4 separate regions of the Homo sapiens genome follow, and regions 2, 3 and 4 are each linked to region 1. Evidence: promoter capture Hi-C in human tissues and cell types (Jung and others, 2019). All regions are on one chromosome and are shown on one strand. The core of a region is centred on a gene start or on the middle of the fragment in contact, and the rest is flanking DNA. Distances in the headings are between cores, read along the strand shown. Region 1 holds the start of IL6R (interleukin 6 receptor). Region 2 overlaps KCNN3 (potassium calcium-activated channel subfamily N member 3). Region 3 overlaps KCNN3 (potassium calcium-activated channel subfamily N member 3). Region 4 overlaps NUP210L (nucleoporin 210 like).

Region 1 (6,048 bases), core at 2,148-4,647:
TCCTGTAATTATTGATTAACCAGGGGCTGGCTCCAGGGCCAGAGGCCAGGGAGGGGTCTGCAGGTCAGTTCAGCCCTACCCCACTGCACTTCTCAGAATAATCGTTGTCCCTAAAGATGGATTCACATGGTGAATAGAGAATAAAGTGCATAGTTTTAAACTCTCACAGTTGAGAATGGCCCCAACACATCAGCCCAGACCTGGAGGTTGGGGGCAGGGTGGGAATTTAAAAAGACCACTTTGAGTCAGGGTATCTGGGATCTTGACCAGCTCTGTCACCACTGCCTGTGCCATCTTTACCAAGCAACTTCTCTTCTTGAGGCCTAGCTCCTTATCTAAAAAGTGAGGGAGGAGAAGCAATGATGACCAAGTCCCTTTTGGTTTCAAAATAACCTTACATATTTATTCTGTGGGTCTCCTGTAGACTTCTGCTTTAGGCAAACTTTAAGATGCTTCATCGCTTCAGGTGAAAGGTGAGAGAGGACTTGCTTGCTGGGAGTCAGCCTAGGGCTTCCCCCTTTACAGGAGACGGAGGGTCCCTGCAGGAACACCGGTGAAGGAGAGGGTGTCCCACACACCAGGTTCTGCTCTCTGCTCTCCCCTCACAGACTACAGAACACCAAGTGCCTGCTGCCATGGTCTGCAGTGTCTTTGGTCCTGGGTGGGCCGACCGAGCCCTTGCTCAGTGAGAGTCCTGGGCCAGGAGCCAGACCTCACCCTGGAGCTGCCAGTTACTAGTAGTGCAGTTTTGAACAAGCCACTTTACCTCTGTTAGCCTCAGTCTACTCATCTGAAAATTGGGGGCAATGTCTCCCAGCATTCAGGGTTGAGAATTTCAGAGGAGATTGTGTATGTAAAGCAATTTGTAAGCAGCACAGTTATCTGAGAAGTGTTCTGGCTCAGACAACTAAAGTCTTCATTGTTCCTTCTGTTGTCTGGGTGAGGGCAGGTCAGGCTGAATTGTGCAGGTATGCTTTCTTCTCTTTCTTTTTTCTTTTTCTTTTCTTTTTTTTGAGAGGGAGTTTCGTTCTTCTTGCCCAGGCTGGAGTGCAGTGGTGCCATCTCGGTTCACTGCAACCTCCGCCTCCTGGGTTCAAGTGATTCTCCTGCCTCAGCCTCCTGAGTAGCTGGGACTACCGGTACGCACCACCATGCCCGGCTAATTTTTGTATTTTTAGTAGAGATGTGGTTTTACCATGTTGGTCAGGCTGGTCTCGAACTCCTGACCTCATGATCTGCCCACCTTGGCCTCCCAAAGTGCTGGAATTACAGGTGTGAGGCACCACGTCCGGCCTGGCCAGGATTAAATTTTTTCATGTGAACCACAACACTAAAACTTTGTATATTGCTGCGCTTATCTTACAAATCAGGAAATAGGGGTTCAGAGAAGTTAAATAGCTTGCTTAAGTCACACAGCCAGCAAGTGGTAAAGCTGGGATCTGCATGACTACAGAGCACACAGGCTCCCCACCAGTAGATTAGAGAGGGGGAGGTCTGCTTTGGTGCAGAGACAGGTGGGATCTGTGATGCCCGTTCTTGGTTTCAACATTCTTTTAAACTCTCCTATCTGAGCCTAGGACTTTCTGCAGCCTTCCTGTTTTAGGCTGGCAGCTCACAGTCCCTCTCTGGTTATTTTCAGGTCTGTGTGTGCCACAGAGAGGAAGGGGGCAACCACAGTGGGAACCGCTTTCCAGCCCTGCTGCAACCCCTTTTGAAATAGCAGGCGAGAGGGCTGGTGGCCTCCACTGTGCTCTTCTGTTCCTGTCTGTGGGCATGGCTAAAGCAAACAAGCTCACCCACACCAGCTCCCATCGTGCGGTGGATCAGTGCATGTGCTTGGTTCTGTCTGGCACTGCTGATGGGTGGTTCCTACAGAAAGATCCAGATGCACGGGGTCTGAGGACTGTTTCAGAAGCTCTGTCCGTCCATGCCTGGCCCTGTCCACTTGGGAGTTCCATTAGGCCATGCCTGTTCCAGCTGTCCCAGGATCTTTGATCTGGGTTAGGATTGGCCTGAAACCAAAGGTAGAAAAACACATTCTAATGAGCAGTTGCTGGTCTAGAAGCTTCTCAGCCTAAACTTTATTTCAGCATTTTTCTTTCCCTCCAGATTCAGCTATGAGGCCATCCTATCAGCTTTAGGCTCTGTGGGGGTCCTTGAGAGAGTTCCCCTCCAAGGGACGGACAGATGGTCCCCTTCAAGGTCCTTGTGGTTGCTCAAAAGCCAGGTGCTTGTTTCTTTCTTTTTTTCTCTCCTTCCTTTCCTTCCTTCCCCTCTATCCCTCCTTCCCTCCCTCCCTCCCTCCTCCCTTCCTTTTCTTTCTTTCTTTTCTTTTTTTTTTTTTCTTTCCAGACAGGGTCTCACTGTCATCCAGGCTGGAGTAGCAGCCCCCAATCACGGCTCACTGTACCCTGGATCTCCCGGACTCAAGCAATTTTCCCACCTCAGCTTCCCTAGTAGCTGGGACTATAGGTGTGTACCACCACACCCAGCTAATTTTTAAATTTTTTTATAGAAATGGGGGTCTCACTTTGTTACACAGGCTGGTCTAGAATTCCTGGACTGAAGCAATCCACCCACCCGGCTCTCCCAAAGTGTTGGGGTTACAGGCGTGAGCCACTGCCCCTGGTGTTAGTGTCTGTCTGTCAAGTCAGGAGGGCAGCCATGAACGTTCTGATGTCTACTGAGCACGTGTGGCCCAGACCGTGTGTCAGGTGTTTAGGTGCCATCCACAGAACCTTCCTAATAACCCTGGGCAGCATAGGCTTTCTTATCTCTGACAGATGAGGAAATGGAGACTCAGATTCTGAACCGAAGTCACAGACACAGTAGATGGTAGGTCTAAATGGGGACCCAGGTCTATCTGACTGCAAAGTCCAAACCGTTTCCTTGCCTCTGCTGCAGCCTGCGAGGAGCAGCTGGGCAGAAAGACTGTGCCTTTACGGTGGTGAGTCTTCCGATGCCCAAGCCTCACCCCAGACCGATGAAATCAGAATCTCTGGAGACCCGACCCAGACATTGGTGGGTTTTAGGGCTCCTGGCTGATTCCAGTGGGCAACCGGGCTACCAAGCACTGTTTTACCCTAAGGGTAAGAGGAACATCGCCTCCTCGAGGGCTCTCCAGGTGTGCCTTTCACAGCGTAATCCCGTTCACGAAACCAAAAATCAAAACTAGGCCACTGCCCACTGGTGGCTGATACGCCCTTTTCTCATCAACAGAACCGGGAGGAAGGGCTCTGGTGGGGCTGGCGGTCCCCTGTTCTCCCCGCTCAGGTGCGGCGCTGTGGCAGGAAGCCACCCCCTCGGTCGGCCGGTGCGCGGGGCTGTTGCGCCATCCGCTCCGGCTTTCGTAACCGCACCCTGGGACGGCCCAGAGACGCTCCAGCGCGAGTTCCTCAAATGTTTTCCTGCGTTGCCAGGACCGTCCGCCGCTCTGAGTCATGTGCGAGTGGGAAGTCGCACTGACACTGAGCCGGGCCAGAGGGAGAGGAGCCGAGCGCGGCGCGGGGCCGAGGGACTCGCAGTGTGTGTAGAGAGCCGGGCTCCTGCGGATGGGGGCTGCCCCCGGGGCCTGAGCCCGCCTGCCCGCCCACCGCCCCGCCCCGCCCCTGCCACCCCTGCCGCCCGGTTCCCATTAGCCTGTCCGCCTCTGCGGGACCATGGAGTGGTAGCCGAGGAGGAAGCATGCTGGCCGTCGGCTGCGCGCTGCTGGCTGCCCTGCTGGCCGCGCCGGGAGCGGCGCTGGCCCCAAGGCGCTGCCCTGCGCAGGGTAAGGGCTTCGGGCGCACCTGGAGGGCTGGGGCAGCTAGCGGCTGGGGGAAACCGCCTTGGTCACCGCAGTCTGTGGGAGGCTGGAGGGAGGAAAGGAGGTGCGACGGATCCCCTTTTCTGTGGCTGCCTTGAGGCCCCGCGGGTACCTAGCTGTGTGGTCGCGGGTAGTGGCTCTTGCGCCCCCTGCTGCGCTTGCTCCCTTGGTCCGGAGCGCTCCCCGGAATGCCCGGTGAAGCTGTGCGGGAACCCTGCGGTCTGTGTACAGGACTGTGTCCTTGCAAACCTGACTCTCGAGCTTCCTTCCCAGTGCCCCCAGGAGCCTTTACACAACCGCGTCCCAGGTTACTCTAAGGGGAGACTGCCCGAGAGGGCGCGCCCCAGCGGGGTGATGTACCCGCCTGGGGAGTCCTTTGTACCAGCGCCCCTCTTCTCCCTCTGCATTGGGGGTCCACCTCGCCTGGTCCTCCCCCCACCCCCGCGGGTGCATGTGTGGATGACAGTGCCCTGACTATGAAGGGACTGACATCACGGGCGCTGAGTCACGGATCTTCCCGCTGCACGGAGTCACTTTGGCAGCCACCAACTCTGGGAAGCCAAGTGCCCCAGTCCTGGGAATTGAGTCGGGAGGCTGGCAAGGGAGTGAGACCTCCTGGGGCTGGCACGTGCTGGACTCCCCTCTAGAAAAGAGAAGGACCCGTGAGGGAGAGGGCAGAGGCACTTACTGCTCCCGTTGACTGTAATCTGCCCCTGGCAAACCAGGCTTTTCTTGGGCTCTGGCCGCATGCCCAGCTGCGTGTCTAGTCTCTCTTCTGGAAGAGTTGGGCAACTGGCTCTCCAGAGGTTTATTTTAGGGTCCCAGTGCTTCTTTGAGGACACAGCAGAAAACTAAGGGGCAGCTGACAGGCTTCTGGAACAGCTGACAGGCTGGGGAGGCTGAAGGCTAAGACTTTCAACCACTAGATCACACTGAATTCCAGTCCTAGGTGAACACTGATCTCTCCCTTTGAGGAGGTGACTTTCTGCAACTAGAGGCTGAGCTGGAGTGTCTGAGGCTCTCTTTGCTTTTTGGATGGTTGTGGTCCTTATGATTGGAAGAAAAAAAGAAGGGATTCCATTTTCAATACACATTTATAACTCCTGCCAGTAACAGACACTGTTGATTGGGGCACCCATTCAATGTTTTCTAATCCTCCACTGTATCTACATATAACTTTGTTTGAAAGAGGAGACTGAGGTTCAGGGAGGTTGGGATGGCGGGATGGCAGGTTGTCAGGCCCCGGTGATGGAGGCCAACCCCTCCCGTGGCTCTGTGCTCCAGTGTGGTAGATGTCTAAGACTCTCAAATATAGAACTAGATCAGCAGGCAGAGCTGGGGGCATTGGGGCAAGCTGAGAGTCACTCTTGTCTGGCTGAGTGCTGGGACAGAAAAGGCTGAGGGAGGGAAGTGGAGGCCCAGGCTTGCCCATGGTGGTGTTAGAGGGATGCAAGACAGGTTCCAGGGCTCGGATGGCCTCAGGAGCAAGCAGGGCTCCCTTGGCTGCCTCTGCTGCTGTCACGCCAGCCCAAGGCTCCTGCCCCAGGGAGGTTACTGTTACTGCTGTAGTTGCCACCACCTGTTGCTCCTGAGTGGATGCTAGGCCCTTCCAGGGCAGCCAGTTACAGTCAGTTTTCCATTTCCCTGGTGCTCAGGAAGGATTAGGAGAGGTGGTCTCATGGCCTGAACAGCCCATGAAAGGCAGAACTGAGAGACTGGGGAGGAAGTGAAAGTCCTCCCAGCTCAGAAGGAAAATGCAGAGAAGTAGAAATACCCAGCCCCTCTCCCACACCCACACAGACTCAGCCCACAAACTGGAGAGTAAAAATAAAGAAATCGTACAGGAAGCATGGAGCAAATGACTGTGAGATGTTTCGCTTTAGAGAAGTGAGGAGCAGAGGGGGAGCAGAGGCTGGAGTTGGCTGAGAGGGGAAATCCGCAGGTACAGCCTGCGGGGCTCTTAGAGCCCAGAGGTTTGTTTTCCTCGGGATCAGCTGCCGCCCACACACCCTGGAGCTGCCAGGACTTCTCAGGTGTACTCGTTGTCTAAGGGCCTGGACTAGCTGGGACTTAGGCTTCTGCCGGTTCCAACACTCTGGTGCTGGAAGGCTGGACTTGGGTGACTCAAGTTCCCTCTTCCTACTGCAATGCAAGAAAATACACAAAAGAAGTATGTATACCTTTAAGTATCTCAAAGAGCTATCTCAGCTTCTGAATTTCCTTCTAGGGCACCTCTTCCTGCC
Region 2 (6,628 bases), core at 1,318-3,817, 420 kb after region 1:
ATGATCTACACATAAGCCAGTCTTCTTTTAGCCTCTTCATGTTCCACAGTTCCATAAGAGCAGCCTGCAATCATTTACTCAGCACACATGTATGGGGGCCTAAGGAGGGCTGGTGCTGTTCTGGTCCAACATAAGCACAGAGAAGGACAGAACACAGTGCTGGCCCTCAAAAATATTTTGATCTTCACAAGCACTTCCTGGTGCCTGAAATGCTACCCAACCACAAGACCCAGATGGGGCTGAAAAGAGCAAATGGTGAATTCAGGAACACTCAGACTGTATTAGGGTAAAACAAACCTCCCTACATCAATCAACTGGGGATCAACTGGGGACAGCTCACAATGTTTTCCATCCAGAAATGACCATAACTTTCTTTTCAAAGGGGTCTGAAAGCATCTGGGAGCATCACACCTCCCCGGGAAGGATTTGGGATCAGCTGCACATTTCAGCCCCTTATTTATTTCTTTTGGCAGCAATGAATTGACATCAGAATCCAAGTCTATTTCCATCATTTTAAAGGAAGCAGTGAAGGGAAAGGGGCCAGATGCTCTCTCCTTTGGGCCTCTTCCTTTTGTCCTAAAGCTCAAAACCTTTACATGAACAGGCAACTCCCACCTGCTTCTTGGTTTTGGCCAGTACAACCTCCCTGGCCAGCTCCAGCCCTGTGGGATGACCAAGCTGTGTGCTGGATCAACAGGGACTCTCGATATCTTACAGATTTCTTTGCATTCTCCATCGCATGTCAATAAAAAAAATTAACCAACCGCTTTTAATAGCTGGAAAACATGTCAAAGAAGTCTGGCTGAACTAGGAATGTTTTCTATTTGGTAAAATGTTGAATTAGCATCTTCTCTTTGCTGCCTGAACATCAGTGAAGCTTGAAATTGATATGGTTCCTTGGGGGATGGCAGTGACACCGGGCTGCCATACATCCCAGGATAGGGTACCTGCCACACGCATTGCCCCCACTCACTCCTATCTGAGGACCAATAAGGGGCTTGTAGAACAGAGGGAATCCAGCGGTCAACTGGTCAACCCTTCTGCCCCGTGACTCAGAACTTTTCAACACAGAGTAACAATCCTTAACACACAGGAATGCTTAGGAATTATATCCCATTTGATGAGAATCATTTTTTTTTTTTTTTTTTTGAGACAGAGTCTTGCTCTGTCTCCCAGACTGGAGTGCAGTGGCACGATCTCAGCTCACTGCAAGCTCTGCCTGCCGGGTTCATGCCATTCTCCTGCCTCAGTCTCCCCAGCAGCTGGGACTACAGGCGCCCGCCACTACACCCGGCTAATTTTTTTGTATTTTTAGTAGAGATGGGGTTTCACCGTGTTAGCCAGGATGGTCTCGATCTCCTGGCCTCAAGTGATCCACCCGCCTCGGCCTCCCAAAGTGCTGGGATTACAGGCGTGAGCCACCGCGCCCAGCTGAGAGTCATGTTTTAAAGTCATTTATTCCTAAATGCCCACAAATTTTCAAGTGGTTAAGTAGATTTGAGATCAGGCAGTGATGGAACACTACGCAGCCACTAAAAACACTTCTGCACACGGCCGTAATCCCAGCACTTTGGGAGGCCGAGGTGGGCAGATCACGAGGTCAGGAGATCGAGACCATCCTGGCTAACACAGTGAAACCTCATCTCTACTAAAAACACAAAAAATTAGCGGGACGTGGTGGCAGGCGCCTGTAGTCCCAGCTACTCGGGAGACTGAGGCAGGAGAACGGCATGAACCCGGGAGGCGGAGCTTGCAGTGAGCCGAGACAGTGCCACTGCACTCCAGCCTGGGTGAAGAGCGAGACTCCATCTTAAAAAAAAACAAAAACAAAAACAAAAACAAAAACAAAAACAAAAAAAACCAAAAAACACTTCTGCAGACAATATCTGAAGACATGGAGAATGGTTGATGATAGACTATTAAGTGATAAACTCAGACCCCAAAACGATATGTAGTATATTTCCAATTATTTCATTTTTAAGCTTTTTTAGTGTAGAAAAAGACTGAAAATATGTCAATAGAATTCCTAAGAGCTGCCTCCATCCATGTGGTCCCTGTTCTGCTCCAGGCCACGAGCCAGCCCTTCACAGATCTGTGATTTCTCATTGATGACAATAATCTGTAATAAAGCACATCTATAGGGGCCTACCATGCAAGGATGGCATTGTCAACCCACTCTTACAGAGGAGAAAGCTTAAGCTCTCAGAAGTTAGGTAACTTGTCCAAGGGCATGTTACCTAACTTCTCACCATGGCAAAGCCAGGATTTGCAAAAGCCAGGTTTTACACCCAGATCTGTCTGCCTCCAGGTTCCATTGCCCCGCCTGTGTCCCAGCACCCCACCTGCTCTGGCGGCCACGCCTTGCTGGCCCTCCAATATCTGCAGCGAGGCTTCTTAGAGCTGTTCCAGCCTTTCCTCCCCTGAGGCTGTGCAGAGGGTGATGGAGTGTGTTCCCCAGCTTCTGAGCCAGCCACATAAATTGCTCTCCTGGCCTGCCTTGTAGCTTCCAAAAACAGGCCAGAACTGTAATGATTATGGTATATCTTCCCAGAGACTTTGAAGTTCTAAATGTATTTTATTGTTTGGGTCATCGCAAAAAGGAGAAAGCTATGCTTACAGACAGAGACCTGGAGGGGCACTGAACCAAACTGAAATATTAGCTTAACTGAGATAATGATGCGCAGGCTCCTTCCCCAACCAAGCTGTTACCCACAAAGAGTATATGTGTATGGTTGTGTGTGTGTGTGTTTATACACATATGTGGTCCATTCACGATTTCTGTCACTGGCTGAAACCCCCAAAGGGAAAAGGTGATAGTATCTGAAGTTCATAATTTCTGAATTAAGGTCTGATGTGCCTGCCTGACATCACTATGTTTTGTGCATTCAATCTGGGAAATAATTGATTTAGAAATCTTTTCTATCTAATAAGGTCAACTTTTCCTTCAATTTCATGGAGAGGCTCCAAAATTGATTGATATTCAACATCGGCTTATGACTGTGGTTCTGTAATGGTTGTCCTAATTAGATACTCTTGCTAATTAATGCTATGCAAATTAAACCAGCCCCTCTTCCGCTAAAGGGAAGACCGCATCACTGGTCGCTGTTCTCCATGGAGACCTGAGGCTTCTTTCCCTCCACATCAGCACCAAGCCCTGGCCTTCCTCATTCCTCAATCTCACACTGTCCAGTTCTTGGGATCTTTCATTCTTACCCATCATCCTCAGCTCCTATCTTAGCACAGCCTCCTCCTCCCAGGTGCAGCACCCTAATTTAATTGCAAGCCCAGGCGTGGTGGCTCACGCCTGTAAGTCCAACACTTTGGGAGGCCAAGGCAGGTGGATCACTTGAGGTCGGGAGCTCAAGACCGGCCTGGCCATCATGGTGAAACCCCATCTCTACTAAAAATACAAAAATTAGCTGGGCATGGTGGTGCAAGCCTGTAGTCTCAGCTTCTCAGGAGGCTGAGGCAGGAGAATGGCTTGAACCCAGGAGGCAGAAGTTGCAGTGAACCGAGATCACACCACTGCACTCCAGCCTGGGAGACAGAGCAAGACTCTGTCTCAATAATAATAATAATAATAACAACAACAATAATAATAATAATTGCAGCTGTTGGCCCTCCCAGCATCCTCAGAGCGGCTTCCCAACCTGGCTCCTACCAGAAGTCAGCTAACAGAATCCTGTTTCAGTCACTAATGAATGAAGTGACAGAATGAAGTCACTCAGACCCTCTCTCTCCCAGGACTGTCCAACCTGAGACCGGGAGAGACAGCCGATGCTGTCACAGTGGGAAGGGAGACTCTGGGGACTCCAGAGGGCAGCTGGACCTCTGACCAGCCTGAGAAGGGAGAAGGGCCTGATACTTGCTAGCCAAGACAGCTCTGGAACAGAGGCCCAGGGTGTGCATCCGAGGGCGCAGGAGTCTCAGCCTCCTCCATAGTGAATGCCTGGCCTGGACAAGTTGCTTCCTTCTCCTAAGCCTCAGCCCCCAGTAAAATGAGACTCCTGGACAGAACCTTCTCCGAAGTTCAGTTAAGCCTGATGACCAAGGCGCCGAGCACACATGCCATGACAAACAGGTCATAGGGACATGTCCAACACTCATTCCTTTTTTTTTTTTTCTTAGGAGTTTTCTTTTCCCAGGCATTTCTGTGATGAAATGTTGGGTGTGAAACGGTCAGCCACAAAACCCACTCACACCATCTTCTCCTCAAACACAACAAGGCAAGCTTCCTATTTTTAGTCATGGGGGGGCTAACGAAGATGTTCCTTGTCTCTTTCTAAATAACATAGGATTTGAAACCAAAAGGCCAGAGTTCAAGTCATGTCTTTGCTACTAACTAGCTGTGTGACACTGGATCGGTCCTTTAACCTCTCTGGGCCTCTGGTTTCTTCTCTGCAAACAAGAACTACCCTTACTTTTCTCACAGCTGTTAGGGGATGAGATGAGATCATGCATACGAAAAATCTCATTCTGTTTTCACACAAAGAGAAGCATGCATTCCCTTGTAGTCAAACACCCCTTCTCTTGCCATACAGATGTCAGTGCAGGTAAATGCAGCTGATCCTCAGTCCGGAGCTGCTCACTGCACCCCCAATATCAGCATTTTATGGCTGCAATAATTTATAAAGATATCCCTGAGGCATTTCAGAAAGACACCTTTGCAATCCGCATAGCCAAACATTCATTCACTTGTGCATTCATACAACATATATTCACTGAGCACTTACCATGCCCAGGCACTGTGCTGGGCAATTGCCAAATGCCAGGGATTCCCCACCCGCTCCAACCCCAACCTGCTGAGCCTGAATCCCATCCAGGAGCTCCCAGGAGCTCATCCCAAGGGCTGCCCTCTGCACCATCATCGCCCCGTCACCTTGACATCCCATCCTGTCCCTCTTGGACACTCTCCCTGGCCTCTCTGTCCTGCCCACAGTGCAAGGTCAAGAAGAGATGGGCCAAGGGTCAGGTCAGGGGGCCCTGGAGGACACATCAGGCTGGGACAGCCAGGAATGGGCAGGAAGCCCAGGCTGAGGGAGAAAACCCACAAGTGGTTCCTTTGCGCTCGAGTGACCAGCTCTCTCCACGGCAGAGCTCAAGAATGGATATTAGAGGCCAAGCTCCAGGAACCTTTCCTGCCTGCCTGAGCCCACTGTGTGGGTGAGGACATCTTTACCACAGGTCCCAGGGGCTGGAGATGGGGCTAAACCTCACTGCCACCTTTTCTCCAGCCCAGTCACCTTCTTACATGAAGCTTCTGTTCTGGGCCCACCCCTCAACCCCACAGCCAGGGGATGCTTGAGGTGGATCCCCAGTGGGCGGAAAGCTGAGACAAGACCATCCACACTCTCCTCTCAGTCCCAGGAGCCAGCCAGGCATCATGAGCCAGCTGACCCGCATCAGGATGCGGGGTCTGACCTAGACCCGAGAGCAGGTGGCTCCTCAGAGCCCTGTCTTCAGTCCTCCTGTGCCCTCCTCAGCCCCCATCCCTGAACGGGGTCCATATACCCACCATCGAAGCTGGGAGCCATTACCTGCTTTAATAGTACACAGGGTAACCTCAGCACCAGGAACCCCGCTGGTCTGCCCTGGGCCCCACACCCTTCCCGAGGCTGGCCATGCCTGGTGTCTCCCATTGGCACTGCCCAGCTGGGGTGACCAGAGCACCTTTCACCATCTGACCCCATTTTCCCACTGATGTTGTTCTCACACCCCCACCAGAGTGTCAACCCCAGAGGGCAGGGAATTTTTACATTGCATTTGTTCACTCCTAGAGCCCCATGCCTAGAACACTGGTCTGGCACATAGTAAGTCAATAAATATTAGTTGAACGTTGAATATTTGAAGGAAGGGAGCAAAATTTTTGAGATATGTCAAGCAGGTAGACACTTCCATCCTGAATTTCCAAATTCATCAAAACTAAAGAGAGGTGATGAAAGTAACAGCTAACATTTATTATTCACTTACCAGAGGCCAGGTACTGTGCTAATTTCGTTAGGTCCTCAGAACAACCCATGGCCCCATTCTAGAGATGAGGGATCTGAAGCCTGGAGAGGGTCACATTCCCACCGTCCCTGGATGAGGAAGAGGTGGGGGCTAGATTCAAACCTGTGCTCTCACCACTGATCCAGAGGGAACCTCAGGAAGACAGGATGGCAATTGCCAGAACATCACCCTTGCAGGCCCTGCCCTTACCGGTCCCACCTGCTCTCTGAAGAAGCCCCCAGTTGTGTGGCTTTAGTGGTGTGATAGATGGTGAACAGACTGAGCTCAGGGCTTGGGGTCTTCACCGTCTCTGCAGACTGGGCCCGGCACGGGGAAACTAGGCAGATAATACTTGTGGCGTGAAGGAAGCCAGTGGTCTCGACACAAAACTCATAAAGTCAAGTTGCCCTGGAGCATTTCCCTGGATCTCTACGTTGCCACTCCCAGAAGGAGACGGAACCTGATGTCTGAGGGACATCATGCAGTTAATAACAAGGGCATTCAGGTCTGAGCAGAGGGTGGCCTACTAATTTTTAGTGAAGCCAGCATGATGACCAGGACACCAATTAAGAGAAAATGATCCTCCCCAGGCCCTGGCTCTCCCATTGTGTGATGTCCCAAGGAAGGCAGAAAAAGGTCA
Region 3 (6,200 bases), core at 3,162-5,661, 450 kb after region 1:
CCTCAAGCACCATCCTGTGACCTCTTACAACCCCTGGGGCAGGTGCTACACGCATTATATGGAAATTGATACACCTCAAACTTAACGAGTCCAACCACAAACTCCCTGTCTTCCCCCAAAAAACTGCTTCTCCCACAGTCTTCTCCATTCAATTAACAGAAATTCCATCCTTCCAGTTGCTTGGGCCAAAAGTCTCAGCCTCATCCTTGACTTCCCCTTTCTCTCACCACTGCCTGACCTGCACACCATGACCTTTTGTCCAATTCATCAGGAATGCCCTCCTTTTAAATAGCCCAAGGGTCCAGCCACTTTTTACCAACTCAATGCTACCACCCAGGTCCAAACCATCACCACCCTCACCTGAGCTGTCCCCACAGCCTCTCAGCGGGGCTCCCTGACCCTGGCTTGACCCTCCCTGTCTGTTCCAAACACTGCAGTCAGAGTGGTCCCATTAAAATGTAAGTCAGATCTTGTCACTTCTCTACTCCAAGCCCTCCTCTTGCTCCCATCTCACCCAGGGTAAAGGCCACACTCCTCAGGACGGTCTACAAATCCCTGCAGAGCCAGACCCGCCTCCCCTGTGACCTCACAACCCCGCCCACATGATCCCTCCACTCACTGAATCAGCCTCACAGGCATCCTCTCTGCTCCCAGGCCTGCACCGTCCAGTGTGAGGACACGAGCCACGTGTGTCCACTGAGCCCCTGCAACATGACCAGTGCAACTGGATTTTAAGTCCATTTCATTTAAAATTAAATATAAAAAGACACTCCACTCTTTTATTGGAAAAATTTTAAGTACGTTTTCAACAACTTGAGTGTGTGAATCTATTCTTTTTTTTTTCTCGGACGGGGAGTCAGGGTCTTGCTCTGCTGCCCAGGCTGGAGTGCAGAGGCACACGCATGGCTCACCACAGCCTCAACAGCAAGCTATCCCCCACCTCAACCTCCCAAGTAGCTAGAACCACAGGCATATGCCACACACCCAGCTAATTTTTTTTTTTTTTTTTTTTAGAGAGATAGAGTCTCACTGTGTTACATTACCCAGGCTGGACTCGAACTCCTGGCCTTAAGCAATCCACCTGCCTCTGCCTCCCAAAGTGCTGGGATTACAGGTGTCAGCCACCATGCCCAGCAAGTCTGTTCTTTTAATTGTAAATTTTATAAACTCTAAATACAGATCAAGTATCTCCAATGAAAACTTAATGTCTGATTGAGATATGCTGTGTCAGAGACACACCAGATTTCAAAGACTTAGTACAAAAAATAAAGTGTAAAAGATCTCAATAATTTTTTGTATTGCTTGCACATTCAAATAATAATATTCTGGCTATGTTGGGTTAAATTAAAAATATTATTAACATGTATAATTCTACTTTTCTCTTTTCACTATTTTTAATATGGCTACTCAGGAATTTAAAATGACAGCGGTAGCTCCCATTTCGTGTCCACCGGACAGTGCTGTCTACAACACACCAGGCATGATCCCCCCTCAGGGCCTTCACCTTGCTATTCCTCTTCCCCCAGGTGGCTGGATCCCTCACCACTTCAGATCCTCCAATAGACATCACCTTTTTGGTAAGGCCTTCCCTGAGCACTTATTTAATTTATTTATTTATGTGTTTATTTTTAGAGACAGGGTTTCACATGTCACCCAGGCTGGAGCACAGTGGCGTAATCACAGCTCACTGCATCCTCGAATTCCTGGGCTTACGGGATCTTCCCACCCCAGCCACCCAAGTAGCTAGGACTACAGGTGCACACCAATGTACTCAGCTTTTTTTTTTTTTCTGTAAAGATGAGAGTCTTGCCATGCTGTCCTGGCTGGTCTCAAACTCCTGGCTTCAAGCAAGCCTCTTGCCTTGGCCTCCCAAAGTGCCAGGATAATAGGCGTGAGCTACCATGCCTGGCCCTAAGCACTTCTTTATTTGTTTTATTTGTGGTTTTTGTTTTCTGTTTTTGTTTTTGTTTTTGTTTGAGACCAGGTCTCACTCTATTCCCCAGGCTGGAGTGCAGTGGCACGATCACAGCTCACTACAGCTTTGACCTCCTGGGCTCAAGCGATCCTCCCACCTCAGACTCCCAAGTAGCTGGGACCACAGGCACGCACCACCATGCCCAGCTAATTTTTTGTTTTGTTTAGAAGGCGTCTCACTATATGGCCTAGGCTGGTCTCAAACTCCTGAGCTCAAGCGATCCTCCTGCCTCGGCCTCTCAAAGTGCTAGAATTACAGGCATTAGCCACTGCACCTAGCTCTGAGCATTTATTTAAAATGACCACTCTCAGCCGGGCATGGTGGCTCATGCCTGTAATCCCAGCACTTTGGGAGGGCAAGGCAGGCAGATCACTTGAGGTCAGGGGTTCAAGACCAGCCTGACCAACATGATGAAACCCAGTATCTACTAAAAATACAAAAATTAACTGGGCATGGTGGTATGTGCCTGCAATCCCAGCTACTCAGGAGGCTGAGGCAGGAGAATCACTTGAATCTGGGAGGCGGAAGTTGCAGTGAGCCGAGATCACGCCACTGCACTCCAGTCTGGGTGACAGAGTGAGACTCCGTCTCACAAAAAAAAAGCTGGGCGCGGTGGCTTATGCCTATAATCCCAGCATCTCGGGAGGCCAAGGCAGGCAGATCATGAGGTCAGGAGATCAAGACCATCCTGGCTAATATGGTGAAACCCCGTCTCTACTAAAAATACAAAAAATTAGCCAGGTGTTGTGGCAGGCACCTGTGGTCCCAGCTACTCGGGAGGCTGAGGCAGGAGGATAGCGTGAACCCGGGAGGCGGAGCTTGCAGTGAGCCGAGATTGGGCCACTGAACTCCAGCCTGGGCGACAGAGCAAGACTCCATCTCAAAAATAATAATAATAATAAATTAATTTGAAAATAAATAAAATAATATGACCACTCTCCTCTCAGAAGCCCCTGCACTCCCATCCAGAGTGGTCCTAACAATTGTGATTGTTATTGATGATGACAATGATGAAAGGAAAAGAGATGTCTTTTTCCTGTTATCTAACTCTGGCTGTAAAATTAGTTGGGGCCTTAACAGATTGGGATCTAAGACTTGTCAATGGAGTAAGAAGTTGTATCTTGGAGGGAAGAGGCTCTTCATAACACTCATCATAGCACTTATCACCATCGAACATAATATATAATTAACTTAGATAGTTTACTATCAGGCTTATCTATTAAAATGTAAATTCGTGACAGCAAAGATTTTTCTCTTTTGTGGGTTTTTTCTACTACAGTCATGTGTCCCATAATGACATTTCAGTCAAGGTCCTGTACAATTATAATGGAGCTGAAAAATTCCTATCACTTCGTGACATCTTGATGATCCTGAACCTGTGTCAGCCCAGGCTAACGTGTGTTTGTGTCTCAGTTTTTAACCAAAAAAGATTTTGTAAGTAAAAATGCATCTTTTTAAATAAATATTTCTAAAATGGAAAAAAACTTATAGAGTAAGAATATAAAGAAAATACTTTCGTGCAATTGTATAATGTGTTTGTGTTATTACAAAAGAGTATAAAAAGCTTATAAAGTGAAAAATTTGGCCAAGCGCAGTGGCTCATGCCTGTCATCCCAGCACTTTGAGAGGCCAAGGCGGGTGGATCACTTGAGGTCAGGAGTTTGAGACTAGCCTAGCCTACATGGAGAAACTTTGTCTCTACTAAAAATACAAAAATTAGCCGGGTGTGATGGCACGTGCCTATAATCCCAGGTACTCAGGAGGCTGAGGCAGGAGAATTCTTTGAACCTGGGAGGTTGAAGTTGCAGTGAGCCGAGATCGTGCCACTGCACTCCAGCCTGGGCTACAGAGTGAGACTCTGTCTCAAAATAAATAAATAAATAAATAAATAAATAAAATTATAGTAAGGTAAGGTTAACTTGTTATTGAAGAAAAAAATATTTTAAATAAATGTAGTTAGCCTAAGTGAACAGTGTTTACAAAGCCTACACTAGTCTACAGTCATGTCCTAGGCCCTCACATTCACTCTCCACTCACTCACTGACTCACCCACAGCAACCTCCAGTCCTGCAAGCTCCATTCATGGTAAGTGCCCTATACAGGTGTAGTATTTTGTATCCATTGTACAGTATTTCTACTGTACCTTTTCTATGTTTAGATACATACTTGCCATTGTGTTATGATTGCCTACAGTATTCAATACAGGCCTGGGAGCAGTAGGCTACACCATACAGCCTCGTGTGCAGAAGGCCATGCCACCTAGTCTGTGTAAGTGCACTGCATGATGCTCACACAATGATGAAATTGCCTAATGACACATTTCTTAGACTGCGTCCCCGTCGTTGCAACGCATGACTGTATATCTGTGATGCCTAGAACAATACACTGGCACATAACAGGCATTCAATAACTTTGTCAAATGAATGAAATTATTTTTCCGCCTGGGCTGGCTACTCAGCTGGAAGTTTCTAAGTGTCTAGCATATGGTAGGTGCTTGACAGATGCCTACTGAATGTCAGGCTGATCTGTTAGCAGGGTCATTGGGGAAACTGAGGCAGCTTAGCTGAGTGATCCCACAGAGAGCAAAAGCAAGCGCCAAGGGTCCTTGAGTCAGACGTGGTGCCTCCTCCCGCTGCCACCCATGCTCCCTCTCCCCGCCCTGAGGGAAGCTCCCCTGAGCCCAACAGCCTCAGGTACCTCGGGGAAAAGTACATTTCTTTTCCTTTCCATAGACTTTTATTCTCCCAGTGAGAAGACAAATCTGTTTCCCCTCCACCAGAAGGCCTCAAGCCACAGCTACTTACATTATAGTAATTAAATCCCTGCTGCTAGGAGGGTTCAGGAGACAAGCAGGACTCGTGCCAAGGGCTGGCCTGCAGGGAGGAGGCAGCAGGGAGGGAGGCTGGCCAGAAGGGCCTGTCTCTCAGCTGTCTCCTGAGAGTGAGAAAATCCCCTTAGCCACGATGTCTTCACAGGCTTTCGCTTGTGGGATAGGAAGATAACGCCCCCCGCAGCCCACCCTGCCAACATGCACCATCGATGAGGACCCCCGCCAGCTGGAATAGCGTAGCTTTCTTCCAGTTCTCTCCGAAATTCCATCTGGTGCTCACGACCTTCCCGCAGATGGCCAGTGCAGGAAACATCCCCTCCTCAGGCTCCTTCTCTCACTCTCTAGATGACAAAACAGAGGACCAGAAACTAAGCTGCCCCACACCTAGCCTAGGATGCTTCTCCTCACCTGCAACTCAGCTGGCCTTCACAGAGCGCTCCATGTGTGCCAGAAACCATGTCCTCTGCCTTACAAACAGCAATATCTCATTAACTCTCATGACAGCCCCAGCGGCCAGGTTAGGATTCACCCCCATGGAAACTGTGAATCAAAGCACTGAGACAGCTTCCCAAAGCCACACAGCCTACAGTAAGTGACACAGCCAGCGCTGTACCCAATATCTGCTTGGCACTAAAGCCTGTTCTCCTAACACCAGGCTAGATAGCCCATATAGAAGAATCAGAGGATGGCCTGGGAGACAGATATGAGGGAGGATGGAAGAAGTGAGGGTGAGATGGACCTTCAGGAAATGGGGGGAAGGGGAGCAGACGGAGGCGTGGGACACCAAGTCTCAGGCTTGTGGGTCAAACCCAAGCCACATGTGTGTGCCCTTGTCTCTCGCAAAGCTCACATCAGACCTGTTGTTACTTGTTCAGTGCCTGCCTCCCCCACCAGCCTGTGAGCTCCATGTCTATTTGGTGCTGAACCCCCAGAACCAACCAGAACACGCCAGGCAGTGCCCTTGTCTCATTTATTCCTCATGACACCCATTCTCATGAGAGAGAGAAAACACTGTTAACCCCATTCACAGACCTGGAGACTGAGGCTCAAAGAGGTCAGTTTTCTCAACAAGGCTGCACAGCCGAGAAGCCACAGAGCTGCGGCAAGAACACTAGGACGCATGCTGTTGAGGGCTCGGGTGGCCCCTCCAGGGCCCACAGGAGACTTTCCTCAGCCCCAGAGCCCAGCACGGCACCTGGAGCTTCAGCAAACCCCTGTATCTAAACTGCCAGCATCCTCCTCCCCTCCTCCCTCTACCCTTACCCCACTCCATGAGCACAAAACATCCCCTGAGGCTCTGGGGGAGGCTGGCAGGGGACTGAGGGTGGCACAGTAAGGGGTGGGGTGGGCGGGAGTGGAGAGCTCAGGCAGGGCAGGAGAAGCTTTTTGGCTTGA
Region 4 (5,736 bases), core at 984-3,483, 380 kb before region 1:
TGGGTTTTTAATTTTTTTTTTTTTGAGACGGAATTTTGCTGTCTCGCCCAGGCTGGAGTGCAGTGGTGCAATCTCAACTTACTGCAACCTCCGCCTCCTGGGTTCAAGCAATTCTCTGCCTCAGCCTCCTGAGTAGCTGAGATTACAGGCGCCCGCCACAATGCCCGGCTAATTTTTTTGTATTTTTAGTAGAGATGGGGGTTTCACCATCTTGGCCAGGTTGGTCTTGAACTCCTGACCTCGTGATCCACCCGGCTCGGCCTCCCAAAGTGCTGGGATTGGCGTGAGCCACTGTGCCCAGCCAGGTTTTTAATTTTTAAAGCTGTGGGAATGTGAAGAGAAGCTGGAGCTTTATGAGGAAAGGACTATAATTCATCCATTTCATGCAGAGTGCTCAATATTTATGGTTAAATAATCAATTACTTATCAGGAACACAATCTATATTGTGTTTTCACACTGTAAGAGAGCTGTGATACAGTAAGTGAAGCCCGCGTTTGAATCATAGCTTTATCATTTCATAGCCTCATGTAACTTTTCTGGGTCTCAGGTTTCTTATCAGTTAACAGTTAGATGGGGATAATAATGCCTACCTCATAGGGCTTTTGTGGTAGTTAAAAGAGATAATATACATACAATGACGAACATAGTATATAGTAGATGTTTAATGTCTAAAATTTTTTTTCGTGTTAAGACTAACTTATCTCTGAGGTCTTTTCTCAATTTTTTAATTCTTGTAGCAAAGCTTAATTTTTTAAAAAGAAACAGATTGTTGCTTTGTTTTCCAGGCTGCAGTGCAGCAGTTCAATTGCAGCACAAAGCAGCCTCGAACTCCTAGGTTCGTGTGATCCTCCACCTCAGCCTCCCAAGCAGCTAGGACTGCAGACATGTGCCACCAAGCCCGGCTATTTTTTTTTTTTTTTCATTTTTTGTAGAGATAGGGGTCTCATTATGTTGCTCAGGCTGGTCTTAAACTCTTGGCCTCAAGTGATTCTCCTGCCTCAGCCTTCCAAAGTGCTGGGCTTACAGGCGTGAGTCACCCAGCCCAGCCAATTTTGATAGCAATCATTCTACACTCCTCCGATACCAGTCCTTTTGCCAAAGCTGCTAGGAAGACAATCATATAAATTTAGGCTGATCTGTTTTTTTTTTTTTTTTTTTTTTTTTGAGATGGAGTCTTGCTGTCGCCCAGGTTGGAGTGCAGTGGCGTGATCTTGGCTCACTGCAGGCTCCGCCCCCCGGGGTTCACGGCATTCTCCTGCCTCAGCCTCCTGAGTAGCTGGGACTACAGGCGCCCGCCACCTCGCCCAGCTAATTTTTTGTATTTTTAGTAGAGAAGGGGTTTCACCGTGTTAGCCAGGATGGTCTCGATCTCCTGACCTCGTGATCCGCCTGCCTCAGCCTCCCAAAGTGCTGGGATTACAGGCGTGAGCCACCGTGCCCGGCCAGGCTGATCTGTTTTATAACAAGGGCTCTAAAGTTCATTTTAATTTTATGGCTTATAACCATGTCAAGACTGGCCTCTTATAGGTTCATTTCTGACTCCCAGAGAGTTTCTTCTTCTTCTTCTTCTCCTTTTTTTTTTTTTTTTTCTGGTTCATGTTCTCTCATGATACAGAAGTTTCTAATTCTTTTCTTTTTCTTTTTTTCTTTAATGGCATGATAAGAAAATTTCTAGTTTTTTAAAAAAGAAACTCTGCTTTTTAAGGCCAGGGTATGACTTTTATTTATTTGTTTTTTTTAGTAAGTCCATGAACTCACCTGGACCCCAGTTATGGTTGTTTGGTTGACTCCAAAAGGTTCTATAGAAGTGACTTCCAATACAGCAGTACCTGCAATGGAACCAGCTTTCAGGAGCCCTTCACCATCCTCCTCAATGACGGATGAATTAGGGAAACACTTGAGAACACGAGAACTCACGAAGGCAGCTCCTTCCCTAGGGAACAAGGAAAGGAAGTGGCATCTTTTTGGGGTCCTGTCTGACCAGAGAGAAAAGAGTAAAAATTTCCAGGATTACTGTTAGGGGATGTACTCGAGAAAACTGCTTGCCATTCTCCACGTGTGTAATTATTTGTTCCTCAGGTAAAAGTCTGCCTTTGGATTATGCTTATTTCTTTAAAATCAAATCTTATTACATATTTATAATTAAAGAATTATTTAGGCCGGGTGTGGTGGCTCATGTCTGTAATCCCAGCACTGTGGGAGGCCAAGGCGGGAGGATCACCTGAGGTCAGGAGTTCAAGACCAGCTTGGCCAACATGGTGAAACCCCGTCTTTACTAAAAATACAAAAAAAAAAAAAATTTTTAGCTGGGCATGATGGCGGGTGCCTGTAATCCCAGCTTCTCGGGAGGCTGAGGCAGGAGAATGGCTTGAACCTGGGAGGCTGAGGTTGCAGTGAGCCGAGATGACACCATTTGCACTGCAGCCTGGGGGACAAGAGCAAAACTCCGTTTCAAAAAAATAATTATTCAGCCAAAACAATTGAAAGCAGGTATTCAGGTAAATACTTGCAAATGAATATTCATAGCAGCACTATTCACAATAGCCAAAAGGTGAAAACAACCCAAATTTCTTTTCTTTTTTGAGACGGAGTTTCGCTTTTGTTGCCCAGGCTGGAGTTCAATGGCGTGATCTTGGCTCACTGCAGCCTCCGCCTCCCGGGTTCAAGTGATTCCCCTGCCTCAGCCTCCTGAGTAGCTGGGATTACAGGCATGTGCAACCACCCCTGGCTAATTTAGTATTTTTAGTAGAGTTGGGGTTTCTCCATGTTGATCAGACTGGTCTCGAACTCCCAACCTCAGGTGATCCACCTGCATTGGCCTCCCAGAGGCCTGGGATTACAGGCATGAGCCACTGTGCCCAGCCCCAAATTTCTATTAGGAGATGAAATTATAAACTAAATGTGGTATTTCCATATAATGGAATACTATTCAGTCATAAAAAGGAAGAAGTACTGATACATGCTACAACATGGATGAACCTCAAAAACATTATGCTAACTTAAAGAAGCCAACACAAGGCTGGGCGTGGTGGCTCACACCTATAATCCCAGCACTTTGGGAGGCCGAGCCGGGAGGATCGCCTGAGGTCAGGAGTTCAAGACCAGCCTGGCCAACATGGTGAAACCCCATCTCTACTAAAAATACAAAAATTAGCCAGGTGTGGTGGCAGGCACCTGTAATCCCAGCTACTCAGGAGGCTGAGGCAGGAGAATTGCCTGAACCTGGGAGGTGGAGGTTGCAGTGAGCTGAGATTGTGCCACTGTGCGCTGGCCTGGGCAACAGAGCGAGACTGTCTCAAAAAAAAAAAAAAAACAAAAAAAAAAAAACAAAAAACACAAAACGTTGCATACTGTATGATTCCATTTATATGAAATACATTCAGGATAGCTAATACCGTACACAGAAAGCAGATTAGTGATTGCCAGGGGCTGCGAGGAGGAAAGAAAGAAGAGTGACTGCTTCACAGGTATGGGATCTCCTTTGGTGGTGATAAAAATATTTGGAACTAGATAGAGATGCTGAATACACAATATTGTGAATGTACTAAATGCCACTGAATTTTACACTTTACAATAGTTTTACATTATGGGAATTTCACCTCACACAAAAAATTATTTGGGAAAAATCTCCTAGAAGGCAAAAGTGTTCTTTCTATGTCAATGTTTTACTGAAAATACTTAAGCTTAGATCCTGGCACTTCCTTATTCTCCCTTTTCCTTACCTGTTGGTATGGAGTTTGAGCTGAGAATTTATAGGCATCAGAATCTGCTCTGGTTGGCACTCTGGATAGAAGAGTTGGAGTTTTTCAAACACCTATAATGAGAAAATGTTTTCCTCATTTTTGGCAAAGACAAATTATGACTTTTACTTACATATAGACTTCAGTATAATCCCGAAGAGATTACATGCAAATAAATGACAACTACGAATCAACAGTCTGCCTAACTTCTAATTAGTCTAAAATCGTCCACAATACTCCTCTCCAAAATGAACCAGGCACTCAAAACGTAACTAGATATTCTAGAAGATATAACCTAATGTTAGCCCTGTTTCTGACTCTGAGGGACTCAGCATGTAGCAAAGTTTACACTTACCACATCTTCCATATTGCTTAGATATTAGGTATAAAAATACTTTGAAATTTCTAATTTTGGCTCTGGTAAAATGACATGAAGTTTGGGGAAAAGAACTTATAATATTAAATTAGCATGAAATAACATCCAGGTCTTCCACCTTCTAGTAAAGTGCTCCTTCCTCTACTTCACATGGAATCAGAGAACCAAAGCCAAAATAAAGGAAAAAATAAAACAGGAAAAGAAAAAAAAAGTCTCAAAATCAGAGGCAGTGAAACTTACTCGACCCATATAAGTGATAATTTGTTTTTTGAATTCTAAAAACAACAGAGCCATTTAGCTTTTAGCCCAAGAATATCTGTAGAAACTATTCATACTCTTACACCTTATCAAAAGTTAGAATTATGTTTTATCCTAACTGTGAATATATTTAAATGGACTTATATCGGCTGGACGCGGTGGCTCATACCTGTAATCCCAGCACTTTGGGAGACCAAGACGGGCAGATTACCTGAGGTTAGGAGTTTGAGACCAGCCTGGTCAACATAACGAAACTCCATCTCTACTAAAAATACAAAAAGTAGCCAGGCATGGTGGCGCATGCCTGTAATCTCAGGTACTCAGGAGGCTGAGGCAGGAGAATCACTTGTACTTGGGAGGTGGAGGTTGCAGTGAGGCGAGATCATGCTACTGCACTCCAGCCTAAGCAACAGAGTGAAACTCTGTCTCAAAATAAATAAATAATTAAATAAAAATTGTTAATGGACTTATAATATCTATGTCAGGTGGAGTGGATCAGAAATGAATCCCTCTCTAGTTACTATGGTGTTCATATCCTGTGTTCCTGATATGGGGAGTTGAAGGGAGTGTGTGTGCTACAGTTTCTTTTCTTTTTTTTTCCAGACTACTCACCTGCAAGTACTAATAGTTTCTAATGTTAATAGTATATAAAAGCAGCCGGGCGTGGTAGCTCACGTCTGTAATCCTAGCACTTTGGGAGGCCAAGGCGGGTGGATCACTTGAGGTTAGGAGTTTGAGACCAGCCTGGACAACGTGGCGAAACCCCGTCTCTACTAAAAATACAAAAATTAGCCGGGCATGGTGGTGCACGCCTGTAATCCCAGCTACTCGGGAGGCTGAGGCAGGGAGAATTACCTGAACGCTGCAGTGAGTGGAGATTGTGCCACTGCACTCCAGCCTGGGTGACAGAGTGAGACTCTGTCTCAAAAACAAAAAACAAGCCAGGCATGGTGGCTCACACCTGTAATCCCAGCACTTTGGGAGGCTGAGGCGGGCAGATCACGAGGTCAGGAGATCGAGACCATCCTGGCTAACACAGTGAAACCCTGTCTCTACTAAAAATACAAAAAATTAGCCGGGCATGGTGGCAGGCACCTGTAGTCCCAGCTACTTGGGAGAATGAGGCAGGAGAATGGTGTGAACCTGGGAGGAGGAGCTTGCAGTGAGCCAAGATCACACCACTGCACTCCAGCCTGGGCAACAGAGCAAGACTGTCTCAAAAAAAAAAAAAAAAAAAAAAAAAACCACAAAAAAACAAAAAACAGGCCAGGCACAGTGGCTCACGCCTGTAATCCCAGCACTTTGGGAGGCCGAGGCAGGAGGATCACTTGAGGTCAGGAGTTTCAGACCAGCCTGACCAA

The links. Contacts are between HindIII fragments. The study calls those that stand out against the background at their distance.
Region 2: a fragment that was not itself captured here is called in contact with the fragment with the promoter of IL6R in region 1 in 4 of the 25 tissues and cell types used here (H1 embryonic stem cells, bladder, mesenchymal stem cells and 1 more).
Region 3: a contact is called between a fragment that was not itself captured here and the fragment with the promoter of IL6R in region 1, in 1 of the 25 tissues and cell types used here (dorsolateral prefrontal cortex).
Region 4: a contact is called between a fragment that was not itself captured here and the fragment with the promoter of IL6R in region 1, in 2 of the 25 tissues and cell types used here (heart right ventricle and sigmoid colon).

The regions. Positions count from the first base shown.
Region 1 is chr1:154,401,946-154,407,993 of GRCh38, forward strand. IL6R (interleukin 6 receptor) reads left to right here and starts at 3,398. Exons shown (of 10, transcript NM_000565.4): 1 at 3,398-3,769. The coding sequence starts at 3,685. It overlaps IL6R-AS1 (IL6R antisense RNA 1), which reads right to left and starts at 4,619. Exons shown (of 2, transcript NR_147855.1): 1 at 4,494-4,619; 2 at 376-2,012. RefSeq lists silencers at 3,203-3,332, 3,533-3,682 and an enhancer at 3,922-4,528. The HindIII fragment of the contact is 9,903 bases long and covers 1-6,048 here.
Region 2 is chr1:154,824,235-154,830,862 of GRCh38, forward strand. All of the region lies in intron 1 of KCNN3 (potassium calcium-activated channel subfamily N member 3), which reads right to left. Among named protein-coding and RNA genes, the nearest start is that of KCNN3, 43 kb to the right of the region's middle. The HindIII fragment of the contact is 4,353 bases long and covers 392-4,744 here.
Region 3 is chr1:154,851,378-154,857,577 of GRCh38, forward strand. The region is part of intron 1 of KCNN3 (potassium calcium-activated channel subfamily N member 3); the gene reads right to left. Among named protein-coding and RNA genes, the nearest start is that of KCNN3, 16 kb to the right of the region's middle. RefSeq lists an enhancer at 5,552-5,711. The HindIII fragment of the contact is 5,294 bases long and covers 1,765-6,200 here.
Region 4 is chr1:154,023,783-154,029,518 of GRCh38, forward strand. NUP210L (nucleoporin 210 like) reads right to left here. Exons shown (of 40, transcript NM_207308.3): 29 at 3,724-3,815; 30 at 1,760-1,934. Among named protein-coding and RNA genes, the nearest start is that of RPS27, 36 kb to the left of the region's middle. The HindIII fragment of the contact is 5,326 bases long and covers 1-4,896 here.